5 separate regions of the Homo sapiens genome follow, and all the other regions are linked to region 2. Evidence: promoter capture Hi-C in human tissues and cell types (Jung and others, 2019). All regions are on one chromosome and are shown on one strand. Each heading gives the region's core, a stretch centred on a gene start or on the middle of the fragment in contact. The rest is flanking DNA. Distances are from core to core; before and after follow the strand shown.

The links. Contacts are between HindIII fragments. The study calls those that stand out against the background at their distance.
Region 1: a contact is called between a fragment that was not itself captured here and the fragment with the promoter of FAM222A in region 2, in 4 of the 25 tissues and cell types used here (IMR-90 fibroblasts, aorta, bladder and 1 more).
Region 3: the fragment with the promoter of GLTP here is called in contact with the fragment with the promoter of FAM222A in region 2 in 2 of the 25 tissues and cell types used here (IMR-90 fibroblasts and hippocampus).
Region 4: a contact is called between a fragment that was not itself captured here and the fragment with the promoter of FAM222A in region 2, in 1 of the 25 tissues and cell types used here (IMR-90 fibroblasts).
Region 5: a fragment that was not itself captured here is called in contact with the fragment with the promoter of FAM222A in region 2 in 8 of the 25 tissues and cell types used here (H1 embryonic stem cells, adrenal gland, dorsolateral prefrontal cortex and 5 more).

The regions. Positions count from the first base shown.
Region 1 is chr12:109,546,338-109,549,037 of GRCh38, forward strand. It overlaps a transcript of UBE3B not described here. Among named protein-coding and RNA genes, the nearest start is that of MMAB, 26 kb to the right of the region's middle. The HindIII fragment of the contact is 3,690 bases long and covers 1-2,700 here.
Region 2 is chr12:109,712,387-109,715,086 of GRCh38, forward strand. It overlaps FAM222A (family with sequence similarity 222 member A), which reads left to right and starts at 1,439. Exons shown (of 3, transcript NM_032829.3): 1 at 1,439-2,511. RefSeq lists an enhancer at 1-464 and silencers at 1,170-1,499, 1,530-1,579. The HindIII fragment of the contact is 9,746 bases long and covers 1-2,700 here.
Region 3 is chr12:109,879,169-109,881,969 of GRCh38, forward strand. GLTP (glycolipid transfer protein) reads right to left here and starts at 1,373. Exons shown (of 5, transcript NM_016433.4): 1 at 1,104-1,373. The coding sequence starts at 1,206. LOC124903012 (a long non-coding RNA gene) reads right to left here and starts at 2,233. Exons shown (of 3, transcript XR_007063455.1): 1 at 2,193-2,233; 2 at 1,947-2,006; 3 at 1,730-1,839. It also overlaps a transcript of TCHP not described here. RefSeq lists a silencer at 1,081-1,630 and an enhancer at 1,955-2,456. The HindIII fragment of the contact is 8,000 bases long and covers 1-2,801 here.
Region 4 is chr12:109,502,865-109,505,564 of GRCh38, forward strand. UBE3B (ubiquitin protein ligase E3B) reads left to right here. Exons shown (of 28, transcript NM_130466.4): 14 at 159-326. Among named protein-coding and RNA genes, the nearest start is that of UBE3B, 27 kb to the left of the region's middle. The HindIII fragment of the contact is 5,281 bases long and covers 1-2,700 here.
Region 5 is chr12:109,523,778-109,526,477 of GRCh38, forward strand. UBE3B (ubiquitin protein ligase E3B) reads left to right here. Exons shown (of 28, transcript NM_130466.4): 22 at 201-338; 23 at 661-726; 24 at 2,581-2,639. Among named protein-coding and RNA genes, the nearest start is that of UBE3B, 47 kb to the left of the region's middle. The HindIII fragment of the contact is 3,674 bases long and covers 1-2,700 here.

The DNA.
Region 1 (2,700 bases), core at 183-2,682, 170 kb before region 2:
TCAGAAGTGGTCTTTATCAGCCAGGGCAACAGAAGCCAGCTCTGCCTCACTTAGAAAAGAAATGTATTGGGCAGTATTGAGGGCTGGAAGCCCAGGCCACAAGCAGAATGGGAGCCAGGGCAGTTCAGGGGACCTGTGCAGTTCAGCCTGAAGCTGGGTCTCTTTAGGATGCTGTGGGCGTGAATGAACCAGCTCCAGCCAGCAACCCATCCTCGCTCAGTGCATGCAGGGGTCTTTAGGGAAATTCAGAGAAAATTCAGGGATTGAAGTAGACTGGGCAAGGCACTGATGTCATTCATTCTTTCATACTCATTTCAATAAATATTTTTGGGCACCTGCTGTGTGCACAGCCTGTTCTAGGCACTGGGATTCAATCTCATTTTGTTGTTCTTGAGACTGAGTCTCATTCTGTTGCCCAGGCTGGCAATGTGGCACGATCTCGGCTCGCTGCAACTTCTGCCTCCTGGGCTCAGGTGATCCTCCCACCTCAGCCTCCCGAGTGGCTGGAACTACAGGTGCACGCCACCACACCTGGCTAATTTTTGTATTTTTTGTAAAGACAGAGTTTTGCAATGTTGCTCAGGCTGGTGTTGAACTCCTGGGCTCAAGCGATCCTCCTGCCTCAGCCTCCCAAACTGCTGGGATTACAGGTGTGAGACACCACACCCAGCCGGATTCAGAGTATTTTGAGAGAGACAGACACCAAAGGAGAAACCAATAAGATAATTTCTGGTGTGTTGAAAATGAGACAAAGAGCCCCATGGAGATTGTATCCCATGGGAAGAAGTAAATCCTCAAAAAGAAATTGAAGCAATTGGATGGTGGGTCCCCAAACAGCAAATATCCACAAGAGGCGTCCTGCCCACACTGGCCCCAGGGCAGTGATCAGGATTCAGATTCCAGAACTAGACTAGAATTCAAATCTAGCCTCAGCCACTTTCTCATCACGACCTGGAGCAAGTCACTTCGTCTTTCCAAGCTTGCAAAATTGGGATGATCACTCTTCCCTGGTTGCTGAGATCAAACAAGGTCATACATGCAGTGCCGGCCATGCAGGCATCATCGAGTTCCATCCTGAGAACTCGATCACGTCCTGGGTGCATGTGCGCGTACGCGCGCACACACATGTACACACGCACACGCATGCATGCATGCACGGTGGGGCACCCAAGCCGATGCCCGCTCCTCGAGGCTGGGGGCTATGCATGCCTGACCCTCTGGTGTATTCAATTATAGGTTTAGCCACATTCATTCCTCCCTCCTTGTAGGTAAGATTTATTAAAATACCCAATCACAGAAATAGCCCTGCTCCCTGACAGCAGCCAACCCACAGCGAAACCACGTTTCCTTGAACCCTCCCCCAAACCCCAACACACGCCAAAACCCTATAATAAGTCCTTGCACAGACCCTCTTCCTGAGGCACCCCAGGTTCCCCACGGTGCGCGTGCTCCCTTATTGCAACAAGACAATAAATCTGACTTTGTTCGACTACAGGTGTGTTCTTGGTGGTCTTTGGCTGCAGGGCACTTTAAACCCAAAAATGTCCCCTGTACAAAATATTTGCAGCCACTTCAGGGGAGGGGAGCTGGAACTGGTTTGTCACACAGCTGGGAACAGCACCCCAGGGAACAACGCAATCAAAAGGAGGTGGTTTCCAGAGCTGCAGTCCCTAGACTGGGGATGGAGTGGGGGTGCGGGATGTCACACCATTTCTCACTGGCTTTAGTCTTAACTTTTCGTGCTTTAATGTGAAATGTAATTACAGATTCAGAGTTATGGTGGTGAGCTCGTCAGGGCTAATTAATTAGTCAGATTTATAAGTATTTGGTTCTCAGAGATCAATGACCCTGATGGGTCGCCTGAAAGCTCTGAGAAATCCCCTTCCTGATAGCTAGTTTTCTTGGGGAGCGGTGGGCTTGGGAGAGCTGCTTTTGCTTTGGCGGCTGGTTGAGAGGGACAGCCTGACCACTCTCAAGCAGCCTGGAGACCATAGGTGCCTCTGAAGTCCCCACACCTTTGAGATCTGTGAGGGCTCTGCCCTAGGAATCAGAAATGTCAAATAGAGGCCACTCGCTCCGCTGCCTCTCCCAGAGGCCACGGCAGACATTAGTAATGGATTCCCAAACCCCTCCCTGTTGAATCTGGACCCAGCACAGCCTGCCAGGCAATCACTTGGAATTGGTGTCTCTTTCCTACCCCTGGGATAAGTCCTTCCCTGCTCTCAGCAGAACAGAAGAGAAAGGAAACTGGATTTTGACACCAGAGGCTGGGATTGAGGTGGGTTTTGCCACTTGCTAACTGGCACACTGGGCTCATCACACTACCTATGGGGGTGCCACTTATCCAGGAAGAGTTAGGGTGATAATCCAGGATGAAAATCTCTATGAGATCACAAACATGAAGGTTCTCTGTCTACTCTCAACCCCTGTACAAGATAAAGATGGGGCAACCAACAGAGGAGGAAGAGATGCCAACATCTCAACATAGTGGGGAAAAGCTGGCGCAGCGATCCCCCAGGGGCAGCTCAGTGGAGGCAGGTTCATTTTTCTTTCAACCTCTTTTGCCCTAGAATGGAAGCCAGGCTTCTACATGCACGCTGGACTCTGCACAGCCAGCTGCCTCCGACAGGGAAAACGGTGCACATTCTCCAGGCTTCCAGACTTCGGGGCTCCCTGATGGCTTTGGCTACTGGAGGGTAC
Region 2 (2,700 bases), core at 189-2,688:
TCCCGGCGGGGTGGGTTGGCTCCTGGAAGTAGGCTAGGGCCCGTCTATAATCAGCCCGTCCGCTGGATACGCTCCCCAGGGTCTCCAAAGCCCTCCAGCCCGGGTGAGTACAGAGGGCATTTATTGAGCACTTAATGTGTGTTTTGAGTCCTTTACATGCAAGAATTCATTTTGCCCTCAAATCTACGCTGTAAGGTAGGAATTATGATGCCCCCCATTTCACAGACAAGAAACTGAGGCGCAGACCCGTGAAGGTAAATGGCCAAGACCAACAACCAGCAAGGGCAGGGCTGCAATCCCACCCAGTTTCGGTGGGACTCCAGGTATCACACGGGCATAGCCTGAGGGGTGGGGGGTCTGACTGCTGCTCTGCATTTCTGTGGGGATCTTTGTTATTATCCCGGAAAGCTGGCTTCCTACAGTGCTGTGTGATGGACACACAGCAACTGAGGGAACTGCCCCACCCAGGACTCAATTTCCCCATCTGTAAATGAGACTGCTAGACGGGCCGCCCATGGGCTGTGAGAACCCAGGAAGCTTCTTTAAAAGTAAAAGGGAAAGCACAGTATAGTTTGATAGATTCATATTTGAACCCCAGGTTGATGTGAAACTATGCCTCAGTTTCCCTATCTATTAAGTGGGGGAGTAGGCTAGTGCCTGTCTCCTGTGGGCGTGGGGTACGTCTAGAAGGTGTAGCTTGCAAATTGCTCAGCGCTGTGCTGGGTTATATAGTTAGCGCTCCACAGATCACAACTGTGATGCCAAAAACACATCGCTGCCAAAAATAAGCCTTAGGACAAAAACATCCAGGACCATGTCACTTCACATCTCCTTACCTCAGTTTCCTCTGTAAGTTGGAAGTATAATAATAGTACCTACCGTATCAGTTTTCTCATCTGTAAAATGGGGGTGATAGTAATACCCACTCACACGGTGTTGTGAGGATTAGATAAAATACTTTGCTACATAAGTGTTAGCTATAGTTGTTATTTTTAACAAATTCCTCATGAGGTTGGTTTTTGCCAAGATTAAATGAAATAATGCCGATAATGCACTTATACAGTGCCTTGTCCCAAATATGTGATCAGTAAATGACACTGGTTTTGCCACCCCTAGTGGGACTACAAAAACCAGCACGCCCTGCGCCCCCAGTCGGGGCCCCTCCACCCGGCGCCGGCGCGCAGCATGCCGGGAGTTGCAGTCCTCGCGAGGCAAGTTCCGCCTCGTCCCTGCTTGGGGGAGGAGGTTGGAGAGCCGCCCTGCCGGCCTTTGAATTTTGCCGCGAAAAGCGCGCGTGGCGGCCCCCGGCTCCGCCCCTCGCAGGACGCGGTGCCGCGTCACCCTGGTAACCGCCTCTCAGCCGCCGCTGATTGGGCTGGGCCGCGGGGGGCGGGCGGGGGACGAGACGCGGGGGCTGCTGCCGGCGCTCGCGCCTGTCAGTCGGGCCAGAGCGGAGCAGCGGGCAGGACTGCCTGGCCGGCTGCTCCGCGGAGAGGCTGCGCGCGCCGGCCGGGGGAGGCGGACAGCCGGGCCCGGCGCCTGTGGGGCGCGGCGCGCGGCACCCGGGCCTGAGACCAGGCGAGGCGCCGGCGCGCGCCAGACGGCGCGAGGCTGCGGCCCCGGGAGCCCCCGCGCGCCGCCCGGGGCCATGGGCGCGTGAGAGCCCAGCGCGCGCGGCCCCTGCTGCGGCTTGCGAGCTCGCACACCCGGTGCACAGTCCCCCGGGCCGTCCTCGTGTCCGTCCTGCGCCACTGGGATCGGCTGTTTCTCAGCGCCGAGGCCCCCGAGGCTGCATCCGAGCTTGCGTCGCCCGCTGCCGCCGCCGCCGCCGCTGCCGCCGCCGCTGTTCGCCGGCTTCCCCTCCCCCCACACCCGGGGCTCAGAGCAGGAGGAGGAGGGGCCGGTGCATTCTCGCCGCTGTTCTTTGCAACCTGCAGGGGCCGGTGTATGTCCGGCGAGGAGCCGGGGCCGCTGCGGGTGCGTGCAACCCCCGAAGGAGACAATCCCTCCACCTCGGGGCGAACCCGGGGGCTGCAAGCCGCGGGCGGGCGGGCGAGCGAGAGGAAGCAACAAAGACAGGCTGCAGCTGGGGCTGGCGAAAGGGGCCGCGGCCGCCGGGCTCCCAGCGCGGGCGGAGAGGGCGCCCTGGGAGCGGCGCGGGCCGAGCTGCAGCCTTGAGCGGGGCCCCGAGGGGAGGCGCAGCGCCGCCCGCCGGACGTGGCGATCACGGGCCCCGGCGAAGATGCGTCGCCTGAGCGCCCGCGCGGCCCCCGTCCGGGGCGGGCGTGACCCCTGCTGAACGGAGACCTCCCCTCCCCCCCGACTTCGGACGGCGCAGGCCGGCGCCAGGATAGCCCTCACCGACAGCGCCCCTTCCCACCCGGAGAGAGGCATCGACCCCCAAGGAGGGCTTCGTCAGGCAGCCTCTGCCACTCCTGCATGGCTGCGACCCGTCGAGCGGAGCGTCGTGGTAGCTGAGACCTGGTGCCCTTCGACGGCCTGGCTGATCCGGTGAGTTGTGCGGGGCGGGGTTCTGCGCTGGAGCTGGGGGCACCCCCTGGCGTCCGGGCAGCCAGGATTGGACAGAAGGGGTCCTAGGCTGTTGGGGGTCCTGAAGCAGAGATAACCCTTGTCCGCCCCTTTCCTCCCTCCAAACACAACTTGTTCAGATGGGCCAGCCGATGGGAGTGGAGGTTGGGG
Region 3 (2,801 bases), core at 123-2,622, 170 kb after region 2:
CTTTGCCCACTAAGTCGGACTGTCTTAAGATCTCCTGTCTTTGGGTTTCAGGTGGACTCTGCCCTGGGGGCTGGTATTTTCCTGCAAGGCCACCAAGTGAACCAGCAGGACAGGACAGAGCCCACATGGAGAAGGAGAATAGAGGCTCAGGTTGCACCCTTTACCCGGGACCCAAAAGGCAAAGGGCAGGGGCAGTGGTGCTGGCTTCTAGTTCCCATTTTCCATCTGGGGCCTTGGCTGGACTGGGCTAGGCTGAGGGAGTGCGGGAAGAGGGTCTGAAAGTGGACCGCCTTCCCAATGCGCCCAGGAACTTCCACACGACATACAGGGGAGGGGCTTCCTCTCGTAGAGCCCAAACTGAGGGAGGAATTGGTGCCAAGCTCTGTATGTCTGATGTCACCTCACAAAACAGCTCCCCCGACAACCCTCACCCCTGTCCTAAAAGGAGGAAAAACTTTAGGTGGTTTCCCCTAGAAAGAGGCCCTGGAATTTTGCAACTCCATCTTCAAAACCCTCTCCTTGTCCCCGCCTCACCAGGCTTCCTACCCTTGGAGGGGGAGATGGGAGTCTTTGATCTGGAATGGGCGAATTCTGAGGGAAGAAGGAAGGGTTTGTAGGTCCCATGAGGGAGAGGCTGGAAGCGTTCAAAGAGAAGGCTTATGAAATGGGGGGATTCATTGTAAGGGGAGCGAGTTGAGAGCCATCAGAAAGCGCCAGGGATGAAGGACTTTGGGGAAGAAGGGGCAGGAGGCTTTGGGGGAGATGGTGGATTACAGAATGCCTAAGGGAGATGGAAGATCATCCGTGTTGGGGGCACGGATGATCAGGGGGCATTTGGGGGATATGTAGGACTGTGAGGTGTCTAGGGAGAGGGAGGATTTGGGGAGGACAGGCAGGATGTGACATGTTTAGAGCGGAGAGGACTTGGGAGTGGTCCGGGAAAGGGAGAATTTAGGGTGAGTGGAGGGAAAGAGGATCTTGGGTGCCTGGGGAAACAGTACTTAGGGGTGTCTAGGGCAGAGATGGTTAGGGGATGCTCGGGGGAAGGAGGATTCGGGTGCGCGTGGGGCTGCGGGCCGCCTCCCCCCTCCATTCCGGCTCACCGAAGAAGGGCGGCAGGTGGGACACCGCCTCGAGGAAGGGCCCGGTCTCGATCTGCTTGTCCGCGGGCAGCGGCTTCAGCAAGTGTTCGGCCAGCAGCGCCATTTCGGGGTCGAGGCCCGCGGTGATGCCCCAGCCGGCGCCGCGGGCGTCGACACCGCCCCCCCGGCCGCCGCCGTCAGCGCCGGGGCCGTCACAGCCGCCCGCCGCAGGCTCCGGGGACGCCAGCGTCGCCACTTCCGCCCGCACGGCGCCCTCGTAGCCGAGCGCTCAGCGCCGCCCGCCGGCCGAGCGCCTAAACTGCCGGGCGCGCCGCCCCGCCCCCGCTCACCGGCTCCCAATCCGCGCCCGCCGCCGAGGTCTCCGCGCCCCCATTGGCCGGGGGGCCGGCCGGGGGCGGGACGCAGAGGAGGTGCGCCGGTTCATGGGTCCCGGAGGGCCCAAGTGAGCCGCTCCCAGGTGAGTCTTCCCCAGGTGTGCCTCCCGCCGCCCCCGGTTTGGCCCCCCAATCCGGGCGGGCCGACTCGGGCCAGGTCACAGCTCACAACCCGCCCACCAGCTCGGGTTACAGCCCCACCCAGCCAACGCTCCCCAGGACCCCCGTTTCCCCCAAAATTGTACCCCAGTAACCCCAAGTGACCTGGGTGGACACTGCTCTCCTGTTGGTCACGGTTCTCTTTCGCTACAACCGACGAGGACGCTCGATTGCTTGATTCTTGGTCTTCAATGACCTTATACCTGTTGAACACTGCTGAAGTCACAGTCTAACTCAGCCACTGCCCTGCTGGACAACTCCTGCTTCCCGAAATCTGGGGTCCAGTCTGCCCTCAACAGTCTGATGTTACCTGTTGTGAGGCAGAAAAATAGGGCCTGGAGGCAGGGAACATAAGGCTGACTTCCTAGACCTAAATCAAAAAGCACCTTAGCAATGACAGGAATGTAAACGGCTTTGCAACTTCACTTCATCCTCTCCATTCACGCCCTTTACACTTTGTAACTTCACATTCATCCTCTCCATTTACACAGACCACACACTCCAAGAAACATCCTCTCCATTTATACTTTGTAACTTCACATTCATCCTCTCCCACCAAGTAACATCCTCTCCATTTGCACATCCTCTCCATTTGCAATAGGGCACATTCTGAGTAAATGACTCTGTGACTTCACTTCATTCTCTTCATTTACATAGAATATTCACCAAGTAACCAATGGGAAACCTCTAGAGTATTGAGACCCTAGAAAATTCTGTAAGCAGAGCTCTTGAGCCTCTACGCTCAAGCCTGCTCCCAAACTGTGGGGTGGACTTTTCGTTCTCAGTAAATCCTTGCTTTTGCTTTCCTTGCTTCGTTTGTGTGTTTTCTCCAAGATGCCAAGTACCTGGACACCTTCTACTGGTAACAGCTGGAGCCAGCCCAGTTTATACCAATTCACCCACAACCTGGACACTTGTTTCCCAAACCTAATGTCTCTCCAACAGCCCAGGGTCCAGCTTCTCACACCTTGAATCACAAGTCATCTCAGCCACAACCCACCTAGATGCTTATGTCCTAAACCCAATGCCCAGCTTATGCAAAAATCTAACACACCATTGTTGAGAGCCTCTTATTCATTCCAGAATAAACATTTGCCATCCTTCCCACCCCTCCCCCACCCTCCACCACTATGTGTCATGCACTGCACTGGGCACTGAGGATAAA
Region 4 (2,700 bases), core at 119-2,618, 210 kb before region 2:
CTAATTTATCCCAAAGAAATGCCTTGAATTGAGTGAGTTGCCCCACTGTCTGGCCTGGCTGTGCATTTAGAGCTTTACTGAAATGCTCTTCCTTTTCCAGGGTGGGATTTGGCAGCTGGCTGAGCTGCTGCTCACATGTCTTCTTTTCTCCATGCCAGGTCTCCTAAAGCGTGCTTTTCAAAAGTCGGCATCAGTCCGGAATATTCTCAGGCCTGTCGGGGGTAAACGGGTCGACTCTGCAGAAGTCCAGAAGGTTTGCAACATCTGTGTCCTCTACCAGACCTCGCTGACAACTCTCACACAGATTCGGCTGCAGATACTCACAGGTTCGCAGTCCCCAGGGCATCTTCTTCACCTCTCACATTTGGCAGACAGTTTGTCTTAGCAAAAGTCGATGTTTTTTTCTGGCTTCTTTGACTCTGAAAATAGATTCTGAAGGAGGGCATTTTTGAGCTGTTCCTCTTAGAGATTAGTCCACCTCAGTTACATTGCTCATGCTCACCTCAATCATAAGCACTTGCATCTCATTCCTGTTTTGTGACTCTTACTTTAATTATGAAGTAGAATTTACTTTTAAAAAGTTTCTGTTTTCTGAGTAAAGAAGCAAAAAAGATAGGGTTGCAAAAAAAAAAGGAAAAAGAAAACCACTTTTAATTCCATAATCCAAAAACAGTCAACTGTGCCTGAGTGTACTGCACATATAAAATAAATATATTTAAATTGAAATATACAGCACTATGCTTTCCTTTCCAATAATCATTTTACCATGTCACAAATTCTTCGAAAACCTTATCTTTATTGGCTACATAGTATCTCATCACATGGATATGCCCAACATTTTCCTTTTTAGCTTAACATGGAGGAAAGTCCCCTCTGTGAGCACAGAATTGGGTATCACAGGCTTTTAGGTTGCAGCACAGTTGTTGTTATGAATTGGTCTTACAAGTACAAAAGGCCTTTGTAAACCGTGGAAGCCTTTTATTACATGAAGGATTAAGAGCTTCTCTGCTGCATTTTACATTTTTTAACATCATAAATCACTGCTTCTCTTTCACACTTATTTATCCATTCTTCAAATATTTATTGAGCACCCCTGTGTGCCAGGCACTGAGGATACAGAGGTGAAAGAGAGAGCCAAGTTCTTCGTTCTCAAGGGGATTGTATTCTAGTAGTGGGGAGACTGAAAATAAGCAAGTAAAAAGTAGGGCTCATGTAATGATGGGCACTGTGAGAATGAAAATGCTGAGAGATGATGTTGGCCTGGGCTACAGCAGGATTTCTCAGCCTTAGCATTATGGATGTCTTGGGCTGGCCCATTCTTTGTCATGAGGGGCTGTCTTGTGTGTTTTGGGATGTTTAGCAGCCCTGGTCCCTACTCATAGATGCCAGTAGCACCTTCCCAACCAGCGTGACAGCCAAACATATCTTCAAATTTGGCATTCAGCCAAATGCCCCCTGGGAGGCAAAATCATTCCTGGTTGAAAGCCACTGGCCTAGTTTAGTAGCAATGGAGATTAAGGCAGGAGGATTTAGATTTGTTTTAGAGGTAGAAGATATGGGTCTTACTGGTAGCTTGGATTTGGGAGCATGAGGACTGAGGGTTTTAAAGAAGATACCAGGTTGTTGGCCCAACCACCTGTGTGGATGGTAGCACTGTTTGCTGAGCTGGAGAAGACCGGGGGCAGGGCCTGTGAGGAGTCTGTTGTGTTGTGGCTGTGACAAGGGAAAGGGGCCTGCTGGGCATGCTGGCAGAGGTGACACTCTGGGAGCATCAGCTGAGGGATGGAGTGTAAAGCCATGGGCTTTCAGCCTAGGGCAGGTTTCCCAAAGATGAGCAGAGGGAGGAGAGAAGGGGCAAGACCATACCTGGGGTACCCCAGCGCCTGAGGGTTTGAGCAGCATCTTGAGTGAGAGGAGTTTGGGGTTGTGGTTTGTGTCCAGCTTTTTTTTTTTTTTTCGAGACGGAGTCTCACTCTGTCGCCCAGGCTGTAGTGCAGTAGCGCAATCTCGGCTCAACTGCAGGCTCCGCCTCCCAGGTTCACGCCATTCTCCTGCCTCAGCCTCCCGAGTAGCTGGGATTACAGGCGCCTGCCACCATGCCCGGCTAATTTTTTTTTTGTATTTTTAGTTGAGACGGGGTTTCACTGTGTTAGCCAGGATGGTCTCGATCTCCTGTGTGTCCAGCTTTTTAAATGAGCTCACATTGAAGCTCATTTTCCCAAGTGAGAGAATCCAAATACAGGTTTTTTAGTCAACTTGAAAATATACACTTTAAGGATAAAGATAAACTAGTCTAAAGTGTATGTTTGATATTCAGTCTATTTAGCAACTTAGATTATAGAAAATAACGCTTGTTTTTAAAATACTGCTGTTTTTCTACTGACAACTTAGGAAGTGTCTGTTTGTGCTCCTCACACACATCTGATAGCACTGGCACTGCTGCTGGTCTGTCTGCCATTGCTCTGCCAGGCCCAGTGTCTCCATCTCTGTCTAAATGGCTAGATATGCAGCCCTTGTTGAATCAGTGTGTGATGCTATGAGCATTCTAGTCTACGCTACATGAGTCCTTTACACAGAACTCGAGGACACTTGCTTTTCTTCTTTTATCCCATAGGAGTATATTTGTGATCTCCACAGTGTTAACTGTTTCCTCTGTTTCTATTTTAACCTATTTTTGAATTGTGAGAGTTCCACATTCTT
Region 5 (2,700 bases), core at 66-2,565, 190 kb before region 2:
GACCACTGCGCTGTCCCCAGGAGGCACTCAGTTGTATTTGGTAGAGGATGGGGAGATACTGCCCTCCGGATTGGAAACTTAGGAGGGGCCTGGAAATGCCGATGGCACCCCTGGGCCATGTCTGCACCCTGAGCCACCCCAATCCAAACACTGCATCAGAATCCTGGCTGATGGACAGCTCTGCTTCTCTGCTCTCCCAGGGAATTGTGGTGGACGTGCCATTTGCATCCTTCTTCCTGAGCCAACTGCTTGGGCACCACCACAGCGTCTTCTATAGCTCGGTGGATGAACTGCCTTCTCTGGACTCCGAGTTCTATAAAAACCTCACCTCCATCAAGGTGAGCATGGAATGGTGGGTGAGCTAAGCCGAGCACTGGTGTGAACTCACAGCTTGCGAAGTCCCAGAAGGAGATGGCCTGTCCTCTCTTATTGCTGTTGCTGTAGCTGCTACAGGCCCCTCACATCCCCCTGTGGGCAGTCCCACTTGGGGCTGATCCTCACAACCTCCTTCCTCAAAGTCACGAATGACTTTCTTTGCGTCAAGCTGTTCAGCAGCCATGGGTGTTCCCAGCACCAAAGCAGCGCCTCAAGGGAGGGTTAAACCTCTTAAGCACATAGTGCTCCATGGCCCTAACACTTTCCCCTTCTCTGTTACATTAGCGCTATGATGGGGACATCACTGACCTGGGCCTGACGCTGTCTTACGACGAGGACGTCATGGGTCAGGTAGGTCCGCCCTTTGGCTGAGCTCCCTTTCCACTGCCCCCATGGGCTCCTGAGACCTGCCGTGTTATTTGTTTTCCTCAGAAAGAGCCCCAAGCTGAGGCTCTGTCTGGTCCCTTGTCCTCCCCACCCCTCGCCCATCCTCCTCCCCTCTTGCCAGGAGGGAGGGCCCCCTCCTTTCCTTCCCAGTTGACCTGGCCTTTGAAGCTTCCCGCAGAGACCCTGCTTTCTTATATCGCATTTTAGGGTAATTCCCCATTTGTAACATGGCTTTTCGTTACCATGGTGAGGATTAGCCGTTACAAATGGAGGATTATGTCTTAGAGAAGGGGAAGATGCCACCTGAGAAGCGCCTCAAGCTCAAGCAGAAGCCTGTCCTTGTTCATTCTCAGCATACAGAGCAGAGCAGGGAGCAGAGACCCTGGTCTCAGGGCCGCAGCACGTCTCCTCCCACGGTTCCTTCTGGCTTTTCTCTGTAGCAGCCTCCGCGCCCTTTGATTGTGTCCTGGTGGAGGTCCCTGCATGAGGCTCTGGGAGTGCAGGTCCAAGGGCCGCTCAGGAGAAACCACGCCATGAGCTTCTTAATGCAGAGCCGACTTATTAGACTCGCGCTTGGGCACCTCAGAACCCCCAGTCTCCCTGAGCCACACTTTCCATATCCATTTGCCAGATGCGAGTCCTGGATGGGCCCAGTCTGTAAGCACCGCTGGGAGCCCTGCGTGGCCTGTCCTCCTGAAAGGCCCCTGGGCAGGCTGGCACGTGAAGGCTCTGAGAAGCCTGTAAGGAGGAAACCAAAGTGGAGCTGAGTTAATCTCAAGCTTCCCTACATCCTGGGACACAGAACTCTTCTTTGAAGGAAGGAAAGAATGCTGTCTCGCAGGATCGTTCTCTACAGAATAGCTCACGGGCAGGGTGTTCCTGGAATCAGGGGAAACCTCAGGCTGGCTGATTCTTAAGGGCCCTTTCAGCTTTAAAACCCACTGGTGCCACCTGAGATGCTGACAGCAGTGGGACTGGGATCAGTGTGTTCCTTTCTAGAGCTGTAGGGTTATAGAATCTTCACAGAATTTCTATTAAAATTGGCTTCAAATGATATGTCCTTTGATTTTTAGGTGATCCACGGAAGTGTTCTTGAAGTTGAAAGAAGCAGTTGATTTTACAGAGTTTAAAATAAATCTATAATCAGATGTTGAGGCTTTATCCTGACATAATTTTTCTCCCGACTATAAAGATAATGAAACTTCTAACAAAAAAAAATTAGCTCTAATATGAGCAAAAGATGAAAAGATAATGAAACTTCTAACAAAAAAAATTAGCTCTAATATGAGCAAAAGATGAAAACGCAAGCTGCCCGTAATGCCAGTGCCCACAGGGTGCCCGTGATAGTGTGTTACCTGCGTCCCTTGAGACTCTTTCCCGAGTCTCCCTTTCCAGAAATGATGCCATTCTGTGCATGTTGTTACATCAGTGGCCTTTTTTCACCTTTTTAGTAAACGCACATTTTCATCATATTGTTTAGTACCTGCACAGTATTCCAGGGTATGGATGTACCAGTGTTTATTTAACCGTCCTACTCTACTCCGAAATGCCAACACATTCCCCTCCATGACATCCCGAAGTCTTAATACAAATGTTTGAACAAGGATTGGGTGAGAAAAAAACCTTTTGTATTGATCATGCAGGGTCTGCTTGTTGATATTTCAGCCTTGACTTTTTATGAGAAAGGATGGTTCCCAAGCATGTGCCATCTTAATTCCATCATTATCATGGATGTTTGTGCTGGGCCCTCTCATCTCCGGGAAGCTTTATTTCCCCATTAGAGTCCTCCCTATTAATTACTCCCATCTTCTCCCCCAGCTTGTTTGCCATGAACTGATTCCTGGAGGGAAGACCATTCCTGTTACAAATGAAAATAAGTGAGTATAGCAATTAGGTTTTTAAGGTCACCACTTGAAAAGACTTCATTCTGGCTCTCTG